Linked DNA regions of Homo sapiens: all the other regions are linked to region 2. Evidence: promoter capture Hi-C in human tissues and cell types (Jung and others, 2019). All regions are on one chromosome and are shown on one strand. Each heading gives the region's core, a stretch centred on a gene start or on the middle of the fragment in contact. The rest is flanking DNA. Distances are from core to core; before and after follow the strand shown. Region 1 overlaps CTNNA2 (catenin alpha 2). Region 2 holds the start of LRRTM1 (leucine rich repeat transmembrane neuronal 1). Region 3 overlaps CTNNA2 (catenin alpha 2).

Region 1 (4,400 bases), core at 1,287-3,786, 66 kb before region 2:
TGAGGTTTGTTACATAAGTAAACTTGTGTCATGGGGGTTTGTTATACAGATTATTTCATCACCCAGGTATGAAGCCCAGTACTCAATAGTTATTTTGTCTGCTGCTCTCCCTTTTCCCACCCTCCACCCTCCAGTAGACCCCAATGTCTGTTGTTTCCTTCTTTGTGTTCATGAGTTCTTATCATTTAGCTCCCACTTATAAGTGAGAACATGCAGTATTTGGTTTTCTGTTCCTGCATTAGTTTGCTAGGGATAATGGCCTCCAGCTCTATCCATGTTCTCTCAAAAGACATGATCTTGTTCTTTTTTATGGCTGTGTAGTATTCCATGGTTTATATGTACCACATTTTCTTTATCTGGTCTGTCACTGATGGGCATATAGGTTGATTCCATGTCTGTGCTATTGTGAATAGTACTTCACTGAACATTTGTGTGCAAGTGTCTTTATGGTAGAGTGATTTGTATTCCTCTGAGTATATACCCATTAATGGGATTGCTCGTTCGGATGATGGCAATCCCACTTTCTGTATCTTGCACTGAAGTTCTCAAGAGAGTTGACGTTATTGGTCAAATCAGTGCAGTGCAGTGAGGGAGATGGGTGGTCTCTTCCAAAGAGTCATACTGTTACTTAGCCTTTTTTCCATCTTGTGCCTTCTCATTACTTAGTGCCTTGTAGTCCTCCCTATCCTGCTTGCAAATGAAGACTCAGGCAGCAGTCTGTCACAAGGGATACTGGGAAATGTAATCTACTAGTGTGTGCAGGAGGAAAGGAAAATGGATTCAGTGAACAACTAGTCAGTCTAAAAATACAGTAAAGTAGGCCTATAGATTATTGTCTGTTTGCACAAGTGAACTTGAACTTGCTTTTATTTATCTGTCAAGGAGCCTTATGTCTGTGAAATCACTAGGATAAGTGAAATAGTTTTCCTGGGCTCATTCCCAAAAAGGAAAACATTGTGGCTAATCAGACACAGAGAATCCACAATGGTGGTAGGCTTCTCCTCACTATTAAATGTGAGATGGCACCAATTTATAGGCTCCATGGACTTTTTCACTACAAAAGAGAAGGAAGCTTTTTCAAACCTCTGTTTTAAGAGGGAAAGCAAAGAGAAGGAAGCTTTTTCAAACCTCTGTTTTAAGAGAGAAAGCAGTAACATATTGAAAGAAATGCACAGTTTTCATTTGTGTCATCTCAACAGCTGGTACTACCCTGAAATTTCAAGGATCCCTTCCCATTGTCAGTCCATGTAACCTCATCCTTAGATCAGAAAACACAGCCACAAAGACATGAGTTCAGAATAAGTGTCTTACAAGTCATACAAGAGAAGGAATATTCTATATGATTGAGTCAAGCATATGGAGACACTGGTCCCAGCCCTGCTAATATCCAATGTGGTTACCTTGGATATGTTACTAAATGTCTGCATTTTTGCTAAAAAATTGAATAATGTGTTTGTTCAAAATACATACAGTACCCAAATTACAATGGTTCAATGCATGATATTTTGACTTTAGGATGGGTTTATCAGGGTATTAAATGTATTTTCAATGTAGAATATTTTCAACTTACGATGGGTGTATTAGGATGTGTCTCATTGTAAGTTGAGGAGCATCTATACATAGGTGTAAGGAAACCTAAAGACTGACTGTTGTGTTTTCTCAGTGGTGGTTCTTGGCAATAGTAGTAGGAGAGGTACTCTTGTTCCTTTTTTGTTACCATTGTTAACTCCAAAATGTGCCAGGCCTTCACAGTGGAAGGGGCTAGTGAGACTGGATGCCAGAGGAAGCACCTGTGGAACAGACACCTGCATAGCCCTACCCTGGGCAACAAGACTTTAAATACCTCCTCCAACTACAAGGTTCTAAGGATCTGCATTGATGTTTCATAGGCATGAGTTCTTAAAATTCTGTCCTGAATATGAAACTCAGGATTGGGAAATGAAGCAAGAAAATGAAAGGATTTGCTTTATGAAGACTCTATATCCTGGGCAAAGTGGTGGTGGGTTGAGTTGGTCTTCAACCTGCCCTTCATTGAAGGGCTGCCTGGACCCTCTCCTAAGGTGCTCATTCTGGATACCCAGTTGGTGACAACTCTTCTTGGTCCAGCACCTTCTCTAAGTTGACACTTCTTTTTCTTGCTCCCCCTAGCCACTCCCCTGACGTGTCTCTTAAAGCTACATTTAGGTATCTGTGCCGTCCAAGGACAAGCTTTAAGGAATGAGCATACCTCATCTAGAGGAAGGAACTGGTAAGACTCCCTCCCCTGGCTCCAGCACTGTTCTGGACTGTAATAGTGCATTCTCACAAGGAGAATCCAGAAATAAAAGTCCATTTATGACTCTGTGACCTCAAGGAATGACTTTACTCAAGATCATTTGAGGCTCCAGGGCAAGGGGAATGGCGGCATGGCAGGCAAGGAGGGGCTGACAGCACGTTGTGCAGTCGAGTTCATGTAGCCACTTCCTGCACAGAAAGACTTCCACTCTGCAGTTGTAAAGAGCTGGCCTTGACAGGGAGTTGCTGGTTCCCCAGGAGTTAATTGATATAAGAAATAACATTACAAGGAATTAATTAGAAGCCCTTGAGTCTTGACAAGAGTTTGTTACAGGCTGATGTGCCTTTTTATTATGAAGCTGGGAAAGGGAATGAGGAGGAGAAGTACGGAGGATGTTAACCATGCAGATGTGAAAGAGATTTTGTAGACAGCCTGCAGAGAGGCCCCTGCATAATGATAGCTCACTCAGAGAAAATAAGAACATGAAACAGTTCCTGACAAGTCCCATAGCTTAACTGGAAGAAAGTGAACCTCTTTGCTTATGAAACATCCTGAAGCTAGCGTAAAAGTTAAAGAGCACTTTGCTCTGAAAGAGAAATAGAGGGATGGAATGGGGGAAGGGACATAGTCATTAGGGTAAGTAAAGTAAAACTGGCTTCCCCACAGGACATCAACACGGTAGAAACATCCGGAATTGTCTCTAAGTCTCACTCCTGGGAATTCACGCCACAGGGATAAATCAGATCAATTACTACCGGCCACCTAGTGGCAGAATGGGGAACAACATGCTGATCTGTCGGCTGGGAGGCTTAATATAGTCCGTATTCACAATAGAAGCTAATTGTTATAAAAATGTTAAGAGGGGGCGTAAAATATTTCAGAGCAGGGGAAGATTTTTAGCCTGAAGACAACATAATTTTTCACTTAAACAATTCATCCAGCTCAGGATTAGATGAAGTTGAGTATGAGGATAATTGAATATAGTAACCAATTCTACGTCTTCCATCCATGTGTGTATTTAAAGATTACAATTATTATGCTATTTTTAAGACGTCTGTTCTAGATAAAGTTCTTCCATGAGATACTACTTTTGATGTACTCTGAAGAGTGCTCTCATGCTGGGAGAATTTCAGTGCTGAAAATAGCTTTTGGCCTAGAGTTGAGACCTGGGTAACCACCCCCAGCTTAGCTATGCGAAACTTGGGTGATTGTCAGAAAGTCATTTACGTATCATGTGGGGATGTTTGTGTATGTGTGTGGGGAGTGTGTTTGTGATTGTATGTAGTGTGTGGGCATATGTATAAATATATTTGTTAAGTTGAAGCAAATACAATAGCCCCCCTCTTATCCACGGGGAATACGTTCCAAGCCCCGCAGTGGAGGTCTAATAGTACACTGTTTTTTTTCTATACACTATTTTTTTCTATACATACCTATGACAAAGTTTAATTTATAAATCGGGTACAGTAAAAGATGAACAACAATAACTAATAATAAAATAGAATAGTTATGGCCTGGCGTGGTGGCTCACATCTGTAATCCCAGCACTTTGGGAGGCTGAGGTGGGTGGATCACCTGAGGTCAGGAGTTCGAGACCAGCCTGGCCAACATGGTGAAACCCCGTCTTTACTAAAAATACAAAAATTAGCCAGGCGTGATGGCATGTGCCTGTAATTCCAGCTACTCGGGAGGCTGAGGCAGGAGAATCGTTTGAACCTGGGAGGCAGAAGTTGCAGTGAGCCGAGATCGCTCCATTGCACTCCAGCCTGGGCAACAAGAGCAAGACTCCATCTCAAAAAAAAAAACAAAAAACAAAACAAAACAAAACAAAGTCATAACAATATACTGTAATAAAAGCTGTGTGAATGTTTATTTCTGAAATTTTCCATTTCATGTCATTGAACCATGGTTGCCCACAGTTAGCTGAAACTCTGGAAAGTGAAAGCGTGCATAAGTGGGGACTACCATATGGGCATCCTACATACCTCTTAGGTGGTACTCAGAGAACCCAGCAATGAGTATTGAACACCCTCAGTGAGCTGAGTTCTGGTTCATCCCAATGGAAGGTATTAGAGAAGGATGAACAAAGTCCCTGTCCAATCTAAGTGGTGACTCTAAGACACAC
Region 2 (4,712 bases), core at 1,019-3,518:
GCACCAGGACCACGATGAGGAAGGAGAAGATGAGGGCCATGGTGCCCGTGACCACCTTGTGGATCTGCACGGCGTTCTCGGCGTGCTCGCCGCCTGGAAGAGCCACGGTGGCAGGCTCGAATGTGCCGTCGTGCTGCCCCTCCCCGCCGTCCGCGAGCGTGGTGGCCGAGCTGGCAGGGGGCCCCAGATCACTGCGGTTGGTGACGGCCGAGAGCAGGTGGCCGCTGGTGGGCTCGGCCCCATCCTCGCACAGGTGGAAGGCGTACACGGCGTCCAGGACGTCCTCGCCCTGTGCGTACTCCGGGCTGGCGCACTGCAAGTTGCCATCGTAGCGCCCCTGGAAGTTGTTGAGCCACGAGGCTAGGGCACACACGTTGCGCCCGCAATCCCACAGGTTCCCGGCCAGGGTGATGCTTGTCAGGGACTTCCAAGAGTTGAGGATCCGGGGCTCGATGTAGGTGAGGCGGTTGGAGTCCAGCTGCAGGGACTGCAGGTGCGGCACGGTCTCGAACACATGGGGCTCCATGTACTCGATCTCGTTGCCCGACAAGTCCATTTTCTCCAGGTTCCAAACCCAGTCCAGCGAGCTGACCACAATGGCCACCTTGTTCCTCCGCAGGCAGAGCGAGTGCAGGGAGATGAGGCGCGGGAAGTGGGCGAAGTTCACCTTGACCAAGTCGTTGTGCTCGAGGTGCAGCTCGGTGAGCTTAAACAAGCCGGCGAAAGAGTTGCGCGCCAGACTCTTGAGCTGATTGTATCCGATGTCGAGAAACTTGAGGCTGCGGCAGTCCTGGAAGATGCGCACGGGCACAAACTGGATGGCGTTGGCCCGCATATGCAGCGTGGTGAGCTTCCGCAGCCCGTGGAAGAGGTCGGGCGCGAGCGCCTGCAGCTTGTTGTACGAGAGGTCCACGCTGCGCAGGTTGGGCATGGGCCGGAAGGTGGTGTTGGGCAGTTGGGTGATCTGGTTGGAACTCAGCGTGAGTTCCTTAACTCGGCGCAGTTTCTGAAAGGCGTCCCCCTGCACGGAGCAGATGTGATTGTGATCCAGATAGAGCCACGTGAGCTGCATTAACCCCGTGAACTGGCCGGCGCGCAGCTCCGAGAGGCTGTTGTAGCGCAGGGACAAGCCCAGCAGGCCGGACAGGTTGTGGGGCGCCTCGGTGAGGTTGAGCGCCTCGCAGTACAGCAGCCGCCCCTCGCACCGGCACAGCTGCGGGCACCCGCTGGGGGCGGCGGGCAGCATCTGAAAGCAGGCCCCCAGCAGACACAAGACCACCCCCGAGGGCCTCCTCAGCAGCCAGTATAGACAGAGACCGAGCAGCAGGAAATCCATTAGCGAGAATCTTTCCAGAGAGACTGGAGAATGTCCATTGGAAGCGCTCGGTCAGAAATCTACATCATATTTTATTCCGAGGGAGGGGAAGCGGGGGAGGGGGAGAAAAGGGCAAAAAATCAAATAAATACATAGAAATAAAGAAGGACCCCCCTCCCCAAAAACCACACGTTCACCTCTAAGCATGCAGAAAGCTGGGCAGCATAGAAAGTTCACAGCCACGGAAAGATCAAAGAGATGGTGATTTGGTCCATGTTAGATGCTGCAGCAAAGAAAAGGGAGGAAAAAAAAAATCTTCGGGAAAGAATTTAATTAAAAAGTGTCTTACCCACCCTTTTCCAGAGAGTGACAACCTCCATTCAGCTGCTCCCTTTGTGTGCAGGCTAATTATATGCAGGGCGAGAGAAGACCCCTCTGTGTTTCCGAGGCAGCCCCGGTCCGCGGCCGGCGGATCTGGCAGGCGCACAATGTCTCACTTTGCTGCTCGGCTCGGGGCTGCAAGGGCGGCCGGCAAGGCGGGGAGGCGACTTCTAGGACCCGCAAGTTTCCCAACTACGTGCCGGAGCCCGAGCTTCGCCTTCCTGCCGCCTTCCTTTCCCTCTGCAGTTCGGACTGTGACGTTGTGGGGGGAAAAAACTCCAAACTCGGGGCTCGCGACTCCCCAGGATCTGACAGTCTGGTTAATGTCCGTCATTGGAAACGACCACTGACCGGCGCCACCTTTTACTCCGCGGAAACAGCCTGCCATTCGCGCCCCGGGCAGCTGCAGAGAGCGGGCTCACTCATGCTTTGCGGGCGGCGGGCGGCGGGCGGCGGGCGGTGGGGAGGTGCGGACGGCGGCGCGGGGAGCGGCGAGCGGCGCCCGGGCTCCTTCCCTCCACCAGGCAGTGTGCGGCGCGAGCTTGCACAGGCACCTACTGCTCACTGAGTGTCGTAAGCTGCTCACGATTGTGCGTCTTCCCCGAGCACCTCAGACATGGGCAGATTGAAAAGGGGTGGGCATAAAACCAACATTTTACCGAACCACTAAAGTAATATATGTTTTTTGATGAAACGGAAAACACTTTCAGCTTTTTTGTCCATATTTCAAAAAAAAAAAAAAAAAAAAAAAGGAGGGGGGAGGGAGGTGGAGGTAGGGGTAGCATCATCCACGACAAGATATTTCCAAGTGGGAAACTGAAATGTTCTGTGCTCTCCCCCTTGCCTTTTGGGGATATATTCTTTTCCCCTTTAAAACTGTCTACGTGTAAGAGATACGTAGGAATCTGTAGAGAAATCAACGTTTGGACCTTTGCTTTAGAAAAGCAACTTGAGAGAAGACACAGGAAGGCAATGATTTGGGGCTTGGCTAAGATTTTTGGGGTTTTTTCCCCCTCTTGCGGGTACTGGAATTCTGCAGTCAGCCAGCCCTTTTTTGAGGTGGAGAGGGGAAATGCTTTCCAAACCCACCTAGTTTGGGAAGCCATCCAAGTCCCGGTGGTGTGAGATCCAGTGTGGCAAAAAGGTATGTCTGTGTGCAGGGAGACTTGACTGAGATCCCTCCGGGGCTTCATCAGGCTCCACAGATACATATGGGGTACAGAGTGGATTAAAGAACGATTGTACTGTCTGACATGGGGAGGGCTTACCCTGACTTGTGCTGTTCATGGTGATTACTGGGCCCTGCAGTGCACCCCACTCCAAGAGAGTGTGAATGTGTAGGGACGTGATAGTTTAAGCCATAATGAAGCCTACCCGTCTCCATACACACATCCTAATTAATCTTTGAGACTGCACTAAGTTGTGCCACTTTTTCCTCTGAGTATGACGAGAAGCCTTTGCCTCATTATTTCTATTCATAATCATTTATAGATAGGAGTCCTTACAATGAGCTCTCCCCCCACCTCCCCACACACACACCTTGTGCCTACTGGTCTGTAGAGGGTCTGCCCTGGGGAGGGTCAGTTGGTCATCTGTTTAAACAAAGTCCTCCAAGATGGCTGAGAAAGCCTGCGGGAAGTGAGTGTGGGCAAGCCTTCCTTCTTGACAAAGATGCCCAGGGAGATGGTAGGGAGAGTCAAATGTGAGTCTCCAGCTCCACTGTTTGAATTCCCATCGTTTCTGCCTCTAAGGAAGTCAAAATCAGTAGGCATTATATGTAGTGGCACTTACTTTGATAGGAATGAGGGTGGATTACCAGAGCCAGGGTAGATAGACTGGACAAGTAACTGGATTGGTCCTTAGCATCTAAGCTGAAGAGGCCAACCAATGGAATCAAAGTCACCAAAGACTGGTGGTACTTTTCAGGAAAAGTCATATGAACAGGGGCATGAATCATTCCATTTTGTATTCATCTGAGCTCTGCCCTGGTCATTCATCTCTGAGATGTATCATTTAATTGGAAGGAACACAAATCTGAAATGTCCTAGACATCACATGCTGTCTTAGGAGTTAGAAGAGACATTAGAAAATCAACCCCCTTAATTTTGCACGTGACTAAACTGAGGCCAAGAGACATCATGGTTTATCCAAGGTCATACAGCTTGCAACTGGCACAGATGGTTTTTTCTTTCTTTCTTTCTTTTCTTTTCTTTTCTTTTCTTTTCTTTCTTTCTTTCTTTCTTTCTTTCTTTCTTTCTTTCTTTCTTTCTTTCTCTCTCTCTCTTTCTTTCTTTCTTAATTTGCCATTCTTGATGATTGCCTCTCTGTCACTCTTGCTGCCTACCTAACTCTGGATCAGGCATTTGCATGTTTCATCCTGGCACCTCCAAGGTGCTGCGGAACACTTTAACAGACAGACAAACAAATTCACCATCAAGTGGTTTCACCTCTTGCCAAGACAATTATTCGTGACAGCAGGCCAGCTGATGGAGCCATAAACTCTAAAGGGTTGGGAGGTGGGGGAGGGGTGTTGAGGAGGCACCCGCAGGGTTAAACAGCGGCCAGCCATTCAGCGAGTACTGTGAGTACACACCACCCAATCCCTAGGGTTGCTAGGAAAAAAAAAAATCCTCCTAATGCTGGCTGCTTGGCAAAGTGGTGACAGAGGCTGCCAAATGGGCAAGAAGAGGTCCCACTTTGGATGTCACTTGATTTGTAGAGCTGGTGCAGAGAGGCAGAAGAGTTGAGTGTTGGCAAGAAAGAAAGGGAATAAAATTAAATTCACTGATTTATATGTGAGTTTTCTTCTAAGTGTGCTACTCAAAACTTACAAGATGCTCCTAGGCTGTAATTAAAATAAATAAATTATATATATATATTATATATAAATATATATTTTCTATATATTGCTTTTTGCATTATTATCCTGCAAATCATTTCATCTATATGGTATCTTTAAGCCTTTCCCACCTCTAATGTGGCAAGTTTGCATCTTTTCTACAGTTTTAAACCCCTT
Region 3 (4,638 bases), core at 1,327-3,826, 73 kb after region 2:
AAACACTTACTTAGTGGAATGATATATCGTTTGAAATGGAGTGTGGTGGCAGGCTCCTTCAGCCCAGATGATGTGATTTGCAGCCTGCAGATTCTTCCCCACCCCAGGCGAGCACAGATGGAAGCCTACTCCTTCTACCCCTGGAGTCACTGTGCTTAAGAAAACAAAATTATGATACTCAGACTGTATTTAATGTTTATTAGGTTGGAAGTTCTTTCTTTGTTTTCCATTTAACAGGCTTTGGTTAATCACAGGAGAACGGACACAAGGGAGAAGAGAGGGTTGGGATAGCCTCGGGAAAGGCACAGGAGGTCCTCTGGAGGGAAAAGGGCCTCCCCAGGAGGTAGGGATTTCTATGGAGCTCTCAGGATGAGGAAGAGAGGGGGAAGGGAGGTATACAGTTTGGTTCTTATAAACCTGGCTTTGTGTTTGTTTACATGTAGGTTGTGGGGATAGGGGTGGATTGCCAGGAAACTTTGAGCTTGGCACCAGTCTGGCTTCTGTACAGGTAATGAAAAGACTTGAACCCATAACATGGTGACCCACCCTCAAGTCAGACTTATAGCTGGTTTTACTCAGGACTTTTTACTACCTTTTGATTCCTGGTTTCTGGCTTCTTTTTTTTTTTTTTTTTTTTGAGATGGAGTCTCACTCTGTTGCCCAGGCTGGAGTGCAGTGGCGTGATCTCAGCTCACTGCAAGCTCCGCCTCCCAGGTTCATGCCATTCTCCTGCCTCAGCCTCCCAAGTAGCTGGGACTACAGGCGCCCGCCACAATGCCCAGCTAATTTTTGTATTTTTAGTAGAAACAGGGTTTTACTGTGTTAGCCAGGATGGTCTCGATCTCCTGACCTCATGATTCACCCGCCTCGGCCTCCCAAAGTGCTGGGATTACAGGCATGAGCCACCATGCCTGGCCTTCAAGTCAGACTTATAGCTGGTTTTACTCAGGACTTTTTACTCACTTTTGATTCCTGGTTTCTGGCTTCCCTTTCTGACTTCCTCTAAGTACCTCCTATTTTGGTAGTAGAAATGGGATCTCTGGCCAGTTTTATTCCCTTGGTAGTTCCTGCTTTGGATCCACCACAGCACACAGAAGCTCCAGGATAAGGTCTGAAGGTCTGAGTCACTCTTTGCCTTAAACTATAAAAATGAATCTTTTTTTTGCCCCTCCCACATCTCTACCATTATTTGATTTTTTTTCCCCTCAGTTTTTTGTTTAGAGTCATACATATGTCTAATTCCTAAATCCTAAATTCCTAATGAACTGATTTCCTATGGGACCAGAGTTTGTTTTATTTAACTCTTTAAGTTTTCTTCTCCCACCCTTCACACAGAGGTTTCCATCTTGCCTTTCTATTCTATCTGTTTAGGGAACAGCTGTCTATTTTCTAGAATGACAACCATTTTAGGTCACACCTTCATTAAGAAACTTTTGCCAGCTACTGGACTTAGTAGACATGCCAGCAAACTAGAGAGATGAAGTTCCTAATTGAGGTTTATAGGCTAATGGTAGAAACAGGAAAAAAAAAAAAAAACGGTAAGTAAATTGTCTATGTAACATCCTTCTTAGTTTTATTAGTGTTTTAGCAGGGAACTTCTGGAGTCATTACAAATGAGTTACAATAAAGAATTGTACATTAAAGAATGATAGATAGATCTCTAGACTTTGCATCATGGTGGAGAGGACATTTAGAAAAGAATGTTTTTCTTGCTGTTCAGACCCAGCTCTGGAGGCTGCTACCTTCTGAGGTGTGTATAAGTGATTAGCAATTCCCTTCGAGGACTCCCCATCAGTGTGGGGCAGACATGGAAAGCCTGCTGCATCTGGCTTTCTAATTTCTGCAAGGCCATCCCTTCCTTGATATGCCAAGTGAGGGTGACTGAAATAGAATCCACTCTTGATGCTTGGGGGATCTCCCTCTTTCTGGCAGTTACAGGTGCTCAGTTTGATTACAATCATCAGTGAGGTGTGTTCATTACTGATTTCATTACCCATGCAGAGGACTGAAAAGGAGGAATCAGTCCCCAGCATTTGCTCCCCATCTTTCCCCAGTAGAAGCTACCACGGTTGTCAGAGCTTGAATTCCTCATGACTGGACTATAGAAGTGAAATATCAGGGTCAATGTCTGGTTCTCCTTTTTCATTTGCCTCATATATGAGTATGTCATGAATGGATTTTAACTTGGTGAAAATTTCACAAGTGTTAAATATTACTCAGATGCTCAAAGATTTCCAAATGGCAAGTCTTGGTAAATCCAGATCCAGCCTATAAAACAATTTATTCTCCCTAGACATTCAATCCATCTGTCTTCCATTTATCCATAGTTCAGATTCTTGGCACTGTGCCTTTCCTTAGGAAGCTTACTATCACAAGAGGAAAAGATCAGGGTAAGGAATTTGCTTATTGGATACCATTTTCATGCTAGACTCAGAGATAGACATGTTGTATGCATTTTCTTATTTTTACCATAATCTTGGGTTAGGCATTATTTTCACTATTCTGCAGATGAGAACTGAGATTCAGTGAGTTTAGGAAAATTGCCCAGCCTCACACAGCTGAGCAGCTGAGATGTAATGTAAGTCTGTGTCTACTTCGAAAGCTCTTGGAAGGAAAGGAAGGCATGTGGGAGAGCATGAAGGTTGAGGAGGTAGGAAGACTGGAAATTGCATTTGCATTGTGATTTTACATAAGAAGGTAAAATGAGATAACATTGATTTATTTATCAAAGCATCCGTCTTTCCCCACCCTAAGTCTTAGTGTCATAAGCCTTCTAGGAGACTAAGATGAACCTTGGAGCTAGCACTATGGCTTTCCATGGCGACACATGGCCGGATAGGTAGCTCTGGATGCAAATAAGCAGGTTGGTATGAGATTCTGGAAGAACTAAGATTTTGGAATTTATCTTCCTCGGTCATCTATGGTCCCATCTCTCATCTGTGGCCAGAGGAAACTTGGCCTTAACATTCTTTGACTCCCAAGTCTAATGTCACTACAAGACTTTATTGAGTACAAGGGAAACTCCTTTTGGGGGCATTGTGCCTGACACTGGGAGATGTGGTCTCTCCCTGACATAGTTTAAACTCTATCTACTGGGAGAGTACCTGCTTACAAATAGCAGAGAAGGGGGCCAGGCGCAGGTGGCTCAAGCCTGTAATCCCAGCACTTTGGTAGGCCGAGGTGGGCGAATCACGAGGTCAGGAGTTTGAGACCAGCCTGCCCAACATGGTGAAACCCCGTCTCTGCACTAAACATGCAAAAAATTAGCCGGGCATGGTGGCGCGCCTTTAATCCCAGCTACTTGGGAGGCTGAGGCAGGAGAATCACTTGAACGCAGGAGACGGAGCTTGCAGTGAGCAGAGATTGCGCCATTGTACTCCAGCCTGGGCAACAAGAGCAAAACTCTGTCTCAAAAAATAAATAAATAAATAAATAAATAAATAAATAAATAAATAAATAAATAACAGAGAAGACATAATGTCACATGAACTTGCAGTATACACACACACACACACACACACACACATTCATTCATATGCACACATTCAAATGCAAGGCATGATCACAACATTTTTATTTTACTCTGCTGTGTTGTATATATGATTAACAAATGCATCATCAGCAGTTTAGGAGTTATTGTCAACCTACTCCAATAGTTTCCTATAATCAGTGTTAAAAATCCAGTTTTCCATAGGGCCGATGACATAATTAGAAGCAACAATAGTTCATTCCCCTCAGCTTATTCTGAGTGAACAGAGAAGCTTCAAGCACCCACCTTTAGCCCTACTCTTGCCTTTTTCATCAGGGCTTGGAAGACAGGGAGTAGCTACAGCCAGGTATCTGACTATGAGGGATGCGGGGTGAGACCACTTGGTGCCAGCTTTCCCCAAGAAGGCTATTCAGGGCTTTCTTTGTCTGCCCGACATCAGAAAGCACTGATCTGTCGTGGTATCGGGAAGAGAGTTCTGTGTAGGCTCTGGGGTCAGGGAGAGGCAGGGTTTTATCTTGGCTGTAGAGGATGCTTCAGGATGGGGAAGAGGGCAGAAGTGGGATTTAGGAGATTATTATGGGGTGCTCAGAGAAACTCTTCTTCTTGAGGGCTGGGGCATAATTACAAGGGAACGGAAAGGTTGGGATCATAGAAAGAGGAACTTGGGAGTGAATTTTCTTAAAATATTAGGAAATCAGCATAGTGTAGACAGGTTTACAAGCAGAAGCTCTGAAATATTGCCTGTATCAGGATCCTGGTTTTTTGTTTTACTTTTGTAAACTTGCAAAAGTTTCTTAAGCTCTTTATGCCTTAGTAAGATCAGCAGTCACTTTTATCTCTTTGTCCATCGTCTCAGCTAACCTTATTTGATGTCTACAGGTGGATATGACAATAACAGTCAAAGAATTTGGGAAGCTGGTATAGCTTTTTCTTTCTTTGTGCAGGGACTTTTTTTGAAATGTTGTTACAGGGTATGCCTAGCCTGTATTGTTTTAGTGTGTCAGAAAGTGTGGCTTTTCTCTTCTAATTAAGTGGTTTGATTATGAATCTCTTGGGTTTTTTTAGATATAGTGACTAATTCACTGGGAATTAAGCAGAATTGCCATAATTGTGGATTTTGGTTCTATTTCAGGTGTACTTCCAGTAAA

What was found. Contacts are between HindIII fragments. The study calls those that stand out against the background at their distance.
Region 1: a fragment that was not itself captured here is called in contact with the fragment with the promoter of LRRTM1 in region 2 in 2 of the 25 tissues and cell types used here (heart right ventricle and ovary).
Region 3: a contact is called between a fragment that was not itself captured here and the fragment with the promoter of LRRTM1 in region 2, in 3 of the 25 tissues and cell types used here (mesendoderm cells, spleen and thymus).

What each region holds. Positions count from the first base shown.
Region 1 is chr2:80,235,844-80,240,243 of GRCh38, forward strand. All of the region lies in intron 7 of CTNNA2 (catenin alpha 2), which reads left to right. Among named protein-coding and RNA genes, the nearest start is that of LRRTM1, 67 kb to the right of the region's middle. The HindIII fragment of the contact is 4,617 bases long and covers 229-4,400 here.
Region 2 is chr2:80,302,484-80,307,195 of GRCh38, forward strand. It overlaps LRRTM1 (leucine rich repeat transmembrane neuronal 1), which reads right to left and starts at 2,269. Exons shown (of 2, transcript NM_178839.5): 1 at 1,669-2,269; 2 at 1-1,395. The coding sequence starts at 1,336. All of the region lies in intron 7 of CTNNA2 (catenin alpha 2), which reads left to right. RefSeq lists an enhancer at 1,086-1,711. The HindIII fragment of the contact is 15,461 bases long and covers 1-4,712 here.
Region 3 is chr2:80,374,946-80,379,583 of GRCh38, forward strand. The region is part of intron 7 of CTNNA2 (catenin alpha 2); the gene reads left to right. Among named protein-coding and RNA genes, the nearest start is that of LRRTM1, 73 kb to the left of the region's middle. The HindIII fragment of the contact is 4,258 bases long and covers 448-4,638 here.